2 separate regions of the Homo sapiens genome follow, and region 2 is linked to region 1. Evidence: promoter capture Hi-C in 16 types of primary human blood cells and fetal thymus (Javierre and others, 2016). All regions are on one chromosome and are shown on one strand. Each heading gives the region's core, a stretch centred on a gene start or on the middle of the fragment in contact. The rest is flanking DNA. Distances are from core to core; before and after follow the strand shown.

What was found. Contacts are between HindIII fragments. The CHiCAGO score rates a contact against its expected background, and 5 or more counts as called.
Region 2: the fragment with the promoter of PLD4 here is called in contact with the fragment with the promoter of CRIP2 in region 1 in 1 of 17 cell types (monocytes); the score reaches 5.1 in monocytes.

The regions. Positions count from the first base shown.
Region 1 is chr14:105,472,206-105,478,108 of GRCh38, forward strand. CRIP2 (cysteine rich protein 2) reads left to right here and starts at 2,616. Exons shown (of 8, transcript NM_001312.4): 1 at 2,616-2,700. The coding sequence starts at 2,658. RefSeq lists an enhancer at 1,058-1,590 and silencers at 1,619-1,668, 1,679-1,768, 1,859-2,008, 2,279-2,348, 2,529-2,638. The HindIII fragment of the contact is 47,861 bases long and covers 1-5,903 here.
Region 2 is chr14:104,921,985-104,927,887 of GRCh38, forward strand. PLD4 (phospholipase D family member 4) reads left to right here and starts at 2,895. Exons shown (of 11, transcript NM_138790.5): 1 at 2,895-3,006; 2 at 5,157-5,246; 3 at 5,689-5,882. The coding sequence starts at 5,157. RefSeq lists enhancers at 624-673, 3,068-3,237, 3,220-3,729. The HindIII fragment of the contact is 16,221 bases long and covers 1-5,903 here.

The DNA of each region.
Region 1 (5,903 bases), core at 1,366-3,865:
TAGAAGTGAGTGGGTACCGGCTGGGGGGAGCATTGGCCTTGGTGCCCAGGCCATGAAGGGGTCTCCCAGCTTTGCTATGTCCTCGTTAGGCCCTTCCCTGCTGATGAGACAGCAGCCTGCTTTCTGCACCAGCAACCCCACAGGGGCCGCGGCTCCCCAGGGCCAGGGGCATCTCAGGGTGGCAAGGCCATCATGCTGTCATGCCTGGAGACCTGTCCTGCCAGCTCCGCTCCACCCTGCTAGGGTCCTCTGTCCACCACTCAGCCCAGCCTGGCTTCCCTGCAGTGGAGCTGAGTAGCAGGGGCCTGCTATCTGCCAGTGTCACAGGATGGCGGAAGGGACCAGACCACTGCAGCCCAGGGGTGTGACCCAGCCCCATGCCCAGCCATCAGCCCTGCCAGCTCCCTTCACACCCGCCGTGTCCTGTGCCCCCCTCTCCACTCGGGCCCGTCCCACTGTGTCACTGCCCCTGCCTGTGACCCACCGCAGCCTCAGAGGTGGAGACCAAGGCCACTGCTCTGCACCCATTGATCCTGACCCCTGCCTGCCAGGCCCAGAATAGCCCCGTCGCATTAGGGAGCTTCTGGCCGCTGCCCAGGGACTGCGGCTGGGGTGAGGGCAGTGCAGCAGCTGGCACACTCCTTGTCCCACCCCACCCTCCGTGTGTCTCCAGGGCACCTGGCCAGTGCCGAATGCCATTCCTTTGCTGCCACCCTGGGAGGGGCCTGCCTCTACCCCCATCCACTCTTCTGGCAGGGCTGGGGACCTTGGGGCAGGTGGTCTCCCTCCAGAAGAGCCCTGTGTTCAGCCAGCCCTGTCCTCCAGAGCAAGCCCCACAGGTAGCAAGCCCCACAGGTAGCAAAGTCAGGGAGGGTAATGGCTTAGCCCCAGGCTCCCAAGCTGGGCAGAACAGGGCAGGGAGCTGGAGAGGGTTTGGCAGTGGGCCCATGAATCCAGCCTGGGCAAGGCCCTGCTGTGAGGGACCCCTAGGGACCCCTGGGCCTGCCAGGGAGGAAGGGCTGCCCAGAAAAGGTACTGACTGATGCCTCCTCACCATCTTCTGCCTTGGCTGGCACAGGTCCCAAGTGCAGAGGGGGAGCTGGTCAGGCTGGTCAGTCGGGCGGGGGGGCGGGGGGCATGTTTCTGGCCTGCTGTCACCATGGAAATGGCAGTGGCTGCAGGGTGTGTGTGCAAGGGAGGAGGGTGCTGCCACAGAGAGCCCAGCCAGGACCACCATGAAAGCCAGGAGCACCGAGGGCCTCTGGTTGGCTCACAAACATGCCTGGTGCACCAGGCAGAGGGAACAGGTAGGTCTCCGTGTCCAGCCCACAGCCTCCAAGACACAGGGGGAAGGGTGTCCAGAGTCAGCTGCCCCCATAGGGCCTGATCACTGGGCTTCTGGGATCTGCCTGTCTCCCAGGCCGACGCTCAGCTGGGGCCAGAAGGCTCAGAGAAGGGCCCATGGGGACAGAGCACCAGGAAGCCCGTGGGTGCGGAGGTTCCCCACCTGGGGCCAGGCTCTACGGGGCTCTAGGGCGGAGGCACTGTGGTGAGGCGTGGTCAGGCACGCCCTGGTTGGGAGGAGGCCAGAGTGGGGGTGTGGGGGTGCGGTGACTGGCATGACCCCTCAATCTCCCGCCTGACCCCTCGAGGTCAGGCCCTGGGCCCCCAGGCACGCAGCTGGTCCTGGGCGGTGCGGGAGAAGGGACTGGAGTGTCAGCCCCAGCCCGGGGCACAGAGGGCACGCCCACTCCTTCCCCTCCTTCCCTTCCTAACTCCTCACCGCCTCCCCGGCCGCCCCCTGGGTGGAAGTGCTTGGGGTGGACGCCTTAAGCGCGGATCCCTCGGCGCTGGTGCCCGCCGCCCCTTCCCTGCCTGGGAGGCAGACGCAGACCTCCCCACACCCCCTACCAGCAGCTTCTCGAGCTGTTTCTGGAGGTGGCGGCGCCTTCCTTCCTGAGCCCTGCCCTCCACCCAAGGAGCCTTCAGCACCACAGACAGTGTTGGGGCGGGGCGCGGGCGGGGGCGGAGCGGGACATGGAGACCCGGACAGGGCTGGGGGCCGTGCCCGCCGGGAATCTGACTCCGCTCCCGCGGCGCGGCTGTTGCTATGGAAACCGAGCAACAAAGGGAAGCGGGACAGGCGCCGCGCGCGGCGGGGTGGGGGTGGGGTTCTCCCGGAGCCTGCGACCCCTTCCCGCGGCGGAGCGCAGCCTGGGCGCCCAGGGCCGGGAGTGTTGGACCCCTAGGCCCAAGTCACTAGGGCTCCCCGAGAGCCGAGGGCCAGGCTCCCCGCACCCTGCCCGCCGCCCCGGGGACGGCCCGGCCAGGCGGCCCCGACGTCGCCATGGAAACAGCCGGGGCGCGGGCGGCGCCGCGGTCGCCCGGGCGGGCCCCTGTAGACGCCACCTCCGGCGCGAGGGGCCCGGGGGCGCCAGGCCTGGCCCGGCTGCCCCGCACCCGCCACCCCCGGCAGGTGCGCCCCGCCCCCGCGGCGCCCCCAGGCGGCCCCCAGCCCGGGGGACGGGTTATCGAGGCCCCGCCCCGGCCGCGGAGCCAATGGGCGCGCGGACAGCCGGGCAGGCGGGGCTGGGCGCGGGCGGCGGCGGCCCGGAGGAGAACGGGCGGAGGGCGCGGGCCGACCGGGCGCACCGACCATGGCCTCCAAATGCCCCAAGTGCGACAAGACCGTGTACTTCGGTGAGTGCGTGCCCGCTCCCGGCCCGCTCGGTGCATCCCGCCGCCCTTCGCGGCCAGTCCCGCGCCGCAGAGCCGCGGCGTAACTCGGGGTGCGCCCGGCCCCGGCCCCGGACCGAGGATGCGCGTCCCGGAGGCTGGCTGGCCGCGCTGCCCAAGCGGCTAAAGCCAAAGGGTGGGGCTGCGCGAAAGCGGGGGCGGTCACGCCCGAACCCCGAAGCGGCTTGTGGGGGCGGGGCAGGGACCACCCGGGCGGGGCTTGTGGTGCCCCGGGATGAGGCCAGTGTTTGGGGGAGCGCTCGGGGATCCGCGGACGCATCCCGGTTCCTCGGACGGCGCCGGGCGGGGCGGGGCAGGGCGTGGCTGTACGCCCCGGGTGCGTCCCGCGCGCTCCCGTGGGCCTGGGCCCTTTCTCCTGGACCCCCTACACCCGCTTCCCCCGGGAACAAGTGGCCGGGAACAGTGACCCCCAGCTCCCACTCCGGGCTCCGCTGAGCTGGGCTGGGCCAGGTTTGGACTCTGTCGGGATTCAGTCCAAGCGGGGGCGACCTTGGCCTCTGCCTCCTGCTTGTCCCGACGCATTCCCTTGGCGCCAGTTCCCCCAGGAGTTTCACACGGGGGTAGGGTGGGGGCGGGTGTGACACGCGAGTTCCCGCGAACGTGAGAGGGACCTTGTGCTCAAGCAGCCCAGGTGTCCAGGATCCCTGCCTCCTCAAGGTCAGAACAGCCCTGGACAGGATGCAGGTGGTGGCGGGAAGAGGGATGTCTCGCAAGGCGGCCCTCGGTCTAGCCCCTCCGGCAGGCGCGCTCCCCCCGTCTGGGCTTACTCACTCTCTGGGCCTGGGTGCGCCCTTCCTACCCCCTTCCTCCTGGCTGATTCGCTGCCCAGCTTTCTCCAGGGTGGTAAGGTCCCTGCCCACCTACCCACCAGCTGCTGCACGAAGGGGGGCAGACTTAGTGAAGCAGAGAGGAGGGCCGGGACCAACAGGGCGCCTGCCCTGGTCGCCCCATACCCAGAATGCGGCCAGGCTGCAGGGAAGGCCGCCACTGGGCTTCCCCGGCTCACAGGCTGGAGGGGGTTGAGGGGAGGTTGTATTTTGCCCGTCCCAGAGGGGAGGGACCGGATTTGGCCTGGAGTGCTTCTGGCGTGGCTGGGAGCCGAGGGGCTTCCGGCTGCCTCTCCTGGAGCCCGCTCAGCCCTCAGTCTCTGTCCCAGCGAGGGCTGTCTCTGTAAGGCTTAGGGTGGGAGACGGTCCCCAGGGCCCTTCTGCAGTCCAACTGCCCATGACTTTACCCCAGGCCGGGCCAGGCCAGCCTGGGGCTCTCCAGGGTCTCGGCCAACAGTCCTGTGGACAGCCCGGAAAGGCCTGCCTGCCTGGCCCGCCCAGCCTCTCAGCGGAAAACAAAGGCGCTTCAGACCCGGCTGGCTTCTGTCCTGCCTGGGAGGCACTGTGAGGGCGAGGGTCCAGAATCCTGCCCACCCTCACACCAGGCTGCCCCCGCAGCTCATACCTGAGTAGAACCCAGGCTGGGATGTCGGAGCACATTGAGGAGGCCACCCCAGAGCCCATGCAGCCAGGGTGGGCAGCTGGTTTTCTTCTGAGCCATTAGACCCAATCGATTCTGTGTTCCCAACTCGGACCCGTAATGTGTGGCCATTGACCCACCCAGTGGGTCTGAGGGCCAGTTCCCTGCCCCCACTTGGCCCACGTCCCAGAGCTGGCCAGAGCACAGTGCTGGCAGCCCTGGGCTGCAGCTGCCACGGCCGATAGCCACCGAGACTTCCTTGCTGCTGCTGGGACACGCCTGCCCACCGTGCAGCCAGCCCCTGCCTGCCCTGGTGTGTCCCAGCTTCCTTGAGTGGAGTGGTTCTGGTCAGAGGGCTCTAAGCTGGTGCAGCCTTGTGGTTGGGCTGGTGTCCTGGAGGCTGGCCCTGGCCATGCCCAGAGGGTTGTACCAGGGCCACGGAGAGCCAGTATTCACAGCCCTCTACCTAGTAGGCCACCTGGGGGATCCCATCTCACTGCCAGGAGCAGCACCCTTGGGCCTCTCAGAGTGGGCTTCGCCCTAGCCAGATGCCCCTCCCCGATATCTGCCAGACAAAGGGGGCTGGGCCACTTGCTGAGAAAGGGAGCTGGGAGAGCCACTGGTCCTCGGCCACCTGAGGGGCTTGGCCAGATTCTGCCGGGCAGGGTGGGCCCAGCCTGCATGCTCCCTCCCCCCAGGGCCTGCAGCTTGTCCCCTTCCCTTCAGAATTCCGGCTCTGCTGGGCCCTTCCTGCCCCTCCCCACCTCTTCCTGCCTGGCTCCCTAGGGAGGCCCCTGCTTCCATCCACTGGGAAGCAGTCCAGTAGCCCCAGTGTGGGGGTGGGAGGCAGTGGCAGAGGGTCCCGGACCCTCAGCAGCTGCCCTCAGATCTTCCATGCCAGTGGCAGCCAGGGGCATTACGGCGGGGGGAGAGCTCAGGGTTTAGGACGAGGAATCCACAGACAGATGAGGGTCCCGCCTGGAGGACCCACGGGGACGGGGCCTGGCCTTCCCATGAGGGAGCTGGAGGTTCTGGGGCTGCACCTTTGACTCAGCAGCGGGGTGCTGCCAGCCCCATCAGGGCCCAGTTGGTGGGGATCAGGGGCGTGTCAGTGCGAGGCAGGTGTGAGAGGGAGAGCAGCATGTGTTGAAGCAGGTGCACTGCAGAGGCAGGTGTGTGAGTGTAAGAGAAGTGTTTGAGGGAATGACAGGTGGGGGAGATGCATATGTGTGGGGGGAGGCAGGTGTGTGGGGGGAAGCGGGTGTGTGTCTGAGGAAGCGGGTGTGTGTGGGGGGAAGCGGGTGTGTGGAGGCGGGCGTGTGGGGGAGGCGGGTGTGTGTGTGAGAGGAAGGTGTGTGGGAGGAGGCAGATTTGTGGGGGGAGGCGGGCGTGTGGGGGAGGCGGGTGTGAGGCGGGTGTCCGGGAGGCAGGTGTTGGAGCGCGGGCAGGTGTTGGAGCGCGGGCAGGTGTTGGAGCGCGGGCAGGTGTTGGAGCGCGGGCAGGTGTTGGAGCGCGGGCAGGCTCGAGCACAGGCCCCTTCACCGCAGGCACTGAGGGGACTAACAGGGCAGCCCCGGGCCCCTTCTCAAAGGCGGCTCTAGCGGGGTTCCAGGGCTGGGGGCGCTGAGACCCAGAGGGAGAACAGGGCCTGGGGGCGACGGGCTCCTCCGGGTCTCAGA
Region 2 (5,903 bases), core at 1,645-4,144, 550 kb before region 1:
GGCCGAGGCAGGCAGATCACGAGGTCAGGAGATTGAGACCATCCTGGCTAACACGGTGAAACCCCGTCTCTACTAAAAATACAAAAAATTAGCTGGGCGTGGTGGCGGGCACCTGTAGTCCCAGCTACTCGGGAGGCTGAGGCAGGAGAATGGCGTGAACCTGGGAGGCAGAGCTTGCAGTGAGCCAAGATCACACCACTGCACTCCAGCCTGGGCGACAGAGCGAGACTCCGTCCAAAAAAAAAAAAAGTAAAATGACAGGAAAAGATATAACATTCAAACAGCAACTCAAAGAGAGGTGGAGTTCCTATACTAATATCAGAAAATATAGATATTAAGACAAAAATTATTGTTAGAGACAAAGAAGGATGTGTTATAATGATAAGAGGGTGATCCATAAGGAAGATATAATAACTAGAAACACATATGCACTAGCTGGGCACGGTGGCTCATGCCTGTAATCTCAGCACTTTGGGAGCCTGAGGCGGGTGGATCACGAGGTCAGGAGATTGAGACCATCCTGGCTAACACGGTGAAACCCCGTCTCTACTAAAAATACAAAAAATTAGCTGGGCATGGTGGCGGGCGCCTGTAGTCCCAGCTACTCTGGAGGCTGAGGCAGGAGAATGGCCTGAACCTGGGAGGCGGAGCTTGCAGTGAGCCGAGATGGCGCCACTACACTCCAGCCTGGGCGACAGAGCAAGACTCCATCTCAAAAAAAAAAAAAGTTTTGCTTCATGGGAAATCCCCAAAGTCCCTCCCCACACCCCATGGGACCAAAGGGCCCTAGACCTCAGGGTGGGGCCTGCAGCGCAGGGAGCAGAGCCGGCAAGGAGCTGCCCTCAGGTCGTTCCTGGCCACACAGCCAGCCTCGGAGCCACTGAGAGGCCTGCCCTGGGTCCCGAATCTAGACGCCCCTTCCAGCCTCAATCTTTCTTCCAGGGTAAGCAGCCTGAGAGGCCAAGAGGACAGTCCACCGAACCCTGAGCCCAAGGCCCAGGATTCCTTGCTTAAACATCCCCAAGCCTGGATCCATCCTCCCGAGGTAGAGCTGCCTGAGCTGTACCCAGTCCTGCTGGCCTGAGGGGCAGCCAGGGGAGGTGACGTGGTGCTTTTCTGGGGCTGCAATGAGCTCAGACCCACGGGCTGGGTGTAGCATGTGGGCTCATTGAGGCCCCTCACAATGTGGGGAAATCGGAGAGGGGACTGGCTGGGGCTGGCCCTCCTGCAAGGACTTCTGAGAGTGCTCCAAGGAGCCCTGGGGTCCTCCACTTGCCCCTGGCCTTCCAGGCCCTCACACACCATTGTTGTCCAGACAGAAGAGACTGGGCGCTGTGGTTCACGCCTGTAATCCCAGCACTTTGGGAGGCCGAGGCGGGTGGATCATCTGAGTTCAGGAGTTCGAGACCAGCCTGGCCAACATGGTGAAACCCCGTCTCTAATAAAAAATACAAAAATTAGCCGGGCGTGGTGGCACGTGCCTTAATCCCAGCTACTTGGGAGACAGAGGCAGGAGAATCGTATGAACTCGGGAGGCAGAAGTTGCAGTGAGCCGAGATAAAGCCGTTGCACTCAAACCTGGGGTACAAGAGCGAGACTTCTCTCAAAGGAAAAAGAAAAAAAAAAAGACAGAAGAGAACCTGTTCTGTCTAACTGCCTTTTGCTTGAGTGCAGGGAAGGCAGCCTCCCTTCATACTCATGCCCCAGCCCTGCAAATGTCACAGCAGGACCCACCTGGCTGCCCCTCCCCATACCCAGAGTAACCCTCACCCAGAGTCCCTGGAGGACCCAACCCTCGGGGGCATGCCTGGGGCCCAGCTGCATTCAGGCATCCAGCAACCCAGCCAGAGGGCTGGGGCTCCCCAACCATGGCCGGGAGGTAAGGGCTGAACCCAAGGCCAAATCAGAGCATCAGGAAGGTGAAGAGAGATCTGGGAGGGGCTAGGGAGAGGATGGATCTCTTCCCCATTCACTTCCTGGCCCACCCAGACTGGCCCCAGGGGTGCAGCTGACAGGCCCCACCCTTGGGAACTGCACCCTCCTGACTGGTGTCCTGCAGGCACCCTGAGGCCATCACCCTGGACCCCTGCCCTACATAGGCCTTACAAGGAGGAGCCAGGGTGGACACCCAGACCTCATTGAAAGTAGGAGTGTTCTCAAGGTCCCAGACCTTACTCAGGGACCCCAGTCGGGGGGTGGGGCAGTGGGAGGCAGAGCCCCTTGCTAGGAGCTTCTAGCCAGGCCCACCTTTTCAGATATGCCAGTGAGCAGCCCCAGCTTCGTTCTCCAAGATAAAGACCCTAGTTACCTCCATTGCTCAGCCTCCCTTGCAGCTAAGTGTAGCCATGTGACTAAGTTCTAGATCAAGTTCCAGATCACAGATAAGTGGAAGTGCCCTGTGGGACTTCCAGGAAGTCTCCTCTGGGATGTCCCTTATTCTCTGCTAAGAACACAGAGGCAATGGCTGAGTTCCAGCAGCCACTGTGAGGCCATGAAGGCAGGGATCCTAGGGACTGGGATCTGAGAGCCTGGCTCCCAATGGCAGTGGAGCAATGCCATCATCTCTAGCAAGGCCGTCTCTAGCCTGCCAGCCCCTGGACCTGCTTAGTGTTCGAGAGTAATGAACAACCTTGCTGAAGCCACTGTTCCTTAGGTGTCTGTGGCCTGCAGCTGAACTTGACTCCGATTCGTAGGCCCGCAACTGGAGGGCCTCTACCTCGAGGGAGTGGGGTGTAGATTTTTCCTGGAGGTGAAGGTTCTCAGCCCTACCCTCTAGCCCGCCCACCCAGCTCCAGCCGTCTGTTTCTGTCTCAGATGAGAGGGGGCCTCTCAGGACAAAGAGGAAGTAGCTGGAAGGGGAAGGAGCCAGCTGCAGAGAGGAGGAGGTGAGCTGCAGAGAAGAGGAGGTTGGTGTGGAGCACAGGCAGCACCGAGCCTGCCCCGTGAGCTGAGGGCCTGCAGTCTGCGGCTGGAATCAGGATAGACACCAAGGCAGGACCCCCAGAGGTATGTGCCAATGAGGCCAGGGCAGCTGAGAAAAGCCAGGCATGGGGAAAGGGCTGCTGTCTGCCTCCCTATGGCCTCAGCCTCCCAGCAACCCCAGGTCCAGAGAGTCACACAGCCTCCAGCTAGTCCTGTAGATGACTCGCTCCGTCCCCAGTCCGTGCAGCTGGGATAAGCTGGGCCCTGGCTCTCCAGCCAGGTGACAGCTGGGCCCTCTACCTCAGCCTGGGACTGGCAGCCATGCCTAATGCCCTGCAGGGCAGGAAATCTGGCACCTTCAGCCATGACCTCTGATGTCTGCAGGGTCTTACGCTATCTACCATGGGACCAGGGGGCTACAGCCCTACTCTGCAGGGGTCTCTCAGCTTGAGCCAACCTGGCTGGCGGTCCTCCCAGGTTCCATTGCAGGAGGAGGTGGTGAGGCGCTCTGGGGTCTGTAGTCCTGGGAGGGGACTTGGACAGGCTCCAAGTCTGAGATGGGGCCTGCAAGAGGCAGCGCCTCTGTGCTCTGAGCTGCCCGTCTGCCTGGAGCATTTAAGGGAGCAAAGGTCCTCTCTGGTGAGGGCAGGGAGTGTGGGGAGCAGCTGTCCAAGAACAGCCCTGGCACCTCGTTGCCCAGCCACAGCCCAGGATTCCATGTTTCCTCTCATTGACCAGCCACAGCCCAGGATTCCATGTTTCCTCTTCTGAGAGTTAGTGGGGGAGAGCAAAGGCCCGATGCTGGGCCCTGAATCCCTGGGGACAGTGGGGACACGGTGGGCACCCTGAGGTCTCCTCTGTGGGGTGGGGGGAGCATCCCCCAGAGTTCAGCTCTGGGGTGGGGGCGGCACCCACCCACCTCTGCAGGACCCCCCAGCGTGGGGGGAGTTGGGCCGCAGTGACTTGGCCTGAGTCCCCTGTCCCCACACTTGGTTTATGCTCCTACCCCCAATCCCCCATAACGCTTGGTCTCCAGGGCAGACTCAGTCCAGGCCCGACTCCTGTGGTGTTCCTGGCATTTCCGCCCCATGCTGAGGCAGGCCAGGTTCTCAAAGCCCTCAGCCCTGACCCGTGGGAGGACAGCCCAGACGAACCCCAGAGGCCTGGAGGCTGAGCTGGCTGCTCCTGGGTGGACAGCCGACCCACCGAGCCCTGGGTCCCAGCGCCCAGCCTGGCTGCAGACACTGGCACTCAGCACTGCCCAGGCCCAGGCCCCAAACCTCGGAGACATCCCCATCCCAGCCAGGGGCCAGCCAGCTCCTGCCCTGGTGGATGTCTCAGTCAGAGGCTGGCCAGCCAGGTGACCATGCTGGGCACAGACCCCTCCCTGCACCCGGGGAGGGCGCCTCTGTACTTGTGAGGCACCCTTCCCCCATGGTGGCACCTGGGGCAGCCTGACTGCTTGCTTTGGGGGTAGGAGTGGGGATGGGAGCCCACATCCCACAGGGCCCAGATGGCCTGGCTCCCAGCTCCTTGTGGGGTGACCACTCTGAGGAGATAAGGCGAGTCCCTGCAGCAGAGGACAACCCCCTCTGCCAGCAGTAGGGGTCCCACTCTGCCGCCATCTCTGCCCTCTCCACGCCTAGCCTCTCCAGCAAGGGTACTGCTCAGCTGCCCCCTCTGACCTGTGGCTCTCTGGAGGGGCTGCCGTGGGGCCAAGACAGGAGCCCAGCCCAGGAGGGAAGCAGTTATTTATAGGCCAGCAATAAGAGGACCAAGCGACAAAAGCAGAAACAGCCCTTTCAGACGCAGTTTCAGTTGTGGTTGAAACAGGGAACTGAGATGCAAATACCTAGATACTCACTGAGTGGGAGACCCTGAAAGGGGAGACACAGAAAGCCGGGGCATGTGGCTAGGCACAGACGCCCGCCCGCCCCTCGTGCTTGGCCCAGGCTCAGCCCTGGGGACCGCCTTAACAGCAGTCCTTCCGGCTTGGCCAGGGGGACAGGACAGGTGACATGTGGCCGGCTGCGGGCTCCAACACCCACACGGCTTGTCCTCGTGGAAAGCACACCCCCAACATCCAGGGCGTGACCTCGGGCATGAGTGGGGGGCTTTTGGGGGCTTATGTGGGTGTCTGTGCAGGGGTGTCCCCAGTGCCCAGCTGCCCAGGCACTGAGGGGCAGTTCTGGGCAGAGCTGGAGCTGCTGGTGATGCCAGGCTGCCCTGTGCAGATGCTGAAGCCTCTTTGGAAAGCAGCAGTGGCCCCCACATGGCCATGCTCCATGCCGCCCCGCCGCCCGTGGGACAGAGAGGCTGGCACGGTAGGACTGGGGGGCCCCAGGGGGGAGGTGGCTGGGATCAATGGCCTTTCAAGAGCTCCGAGCCAGAGTGGAGAGGTCACAAGCAGCCTTGAGGGGGCCTCCAAGCAGAGGTGCCCTGACTGGTGGGCAAGGGAAGCCTCCCTGGGCTGCTCCAGACCTTCCCTTTATGCCCCTGCTGGAGGTGCTGGGGACAGCCAGTTACCACGAGCCACAGCATTGCAGAGTGGGCTGCAGGCCCCCTGACCCCTGCCACCACCCTGGGCTGGGGGCCTTCTCTGTATCACCCTCCCCTCTCCCTTGTCCACCCTAGTCCCACCCCAGTGGCAGCCCAGGTCCGGGAAGTCAAGACGGTCTCTGTCTCAGCACTGGAGGGGCCATCGTGGCCCAGCCAGAAGTCAAGCCCCGCCCTGTCTGGTGACCCTGCGGGTGCTGCCCCATCCAGTTGCAGGTCCTGGGAGCGCTGGCTGTGCTGTGGCTGGGCTCCGTGGCTCTTATCTGCCTCCTGTGGCAAGTGCCCCGTCCTCCCACCTGGGGCCAGGTGCAGCCCAAGGACGTGCCCAGGTCCTGGGAGCATGGCTCCAGCCCAGCTTGGGAGCCCCTGGAAGCAGAGGCCAGGCAGCAGAGGGACTCCTGCCAGTAAGTGAGCCCATGGAGGCC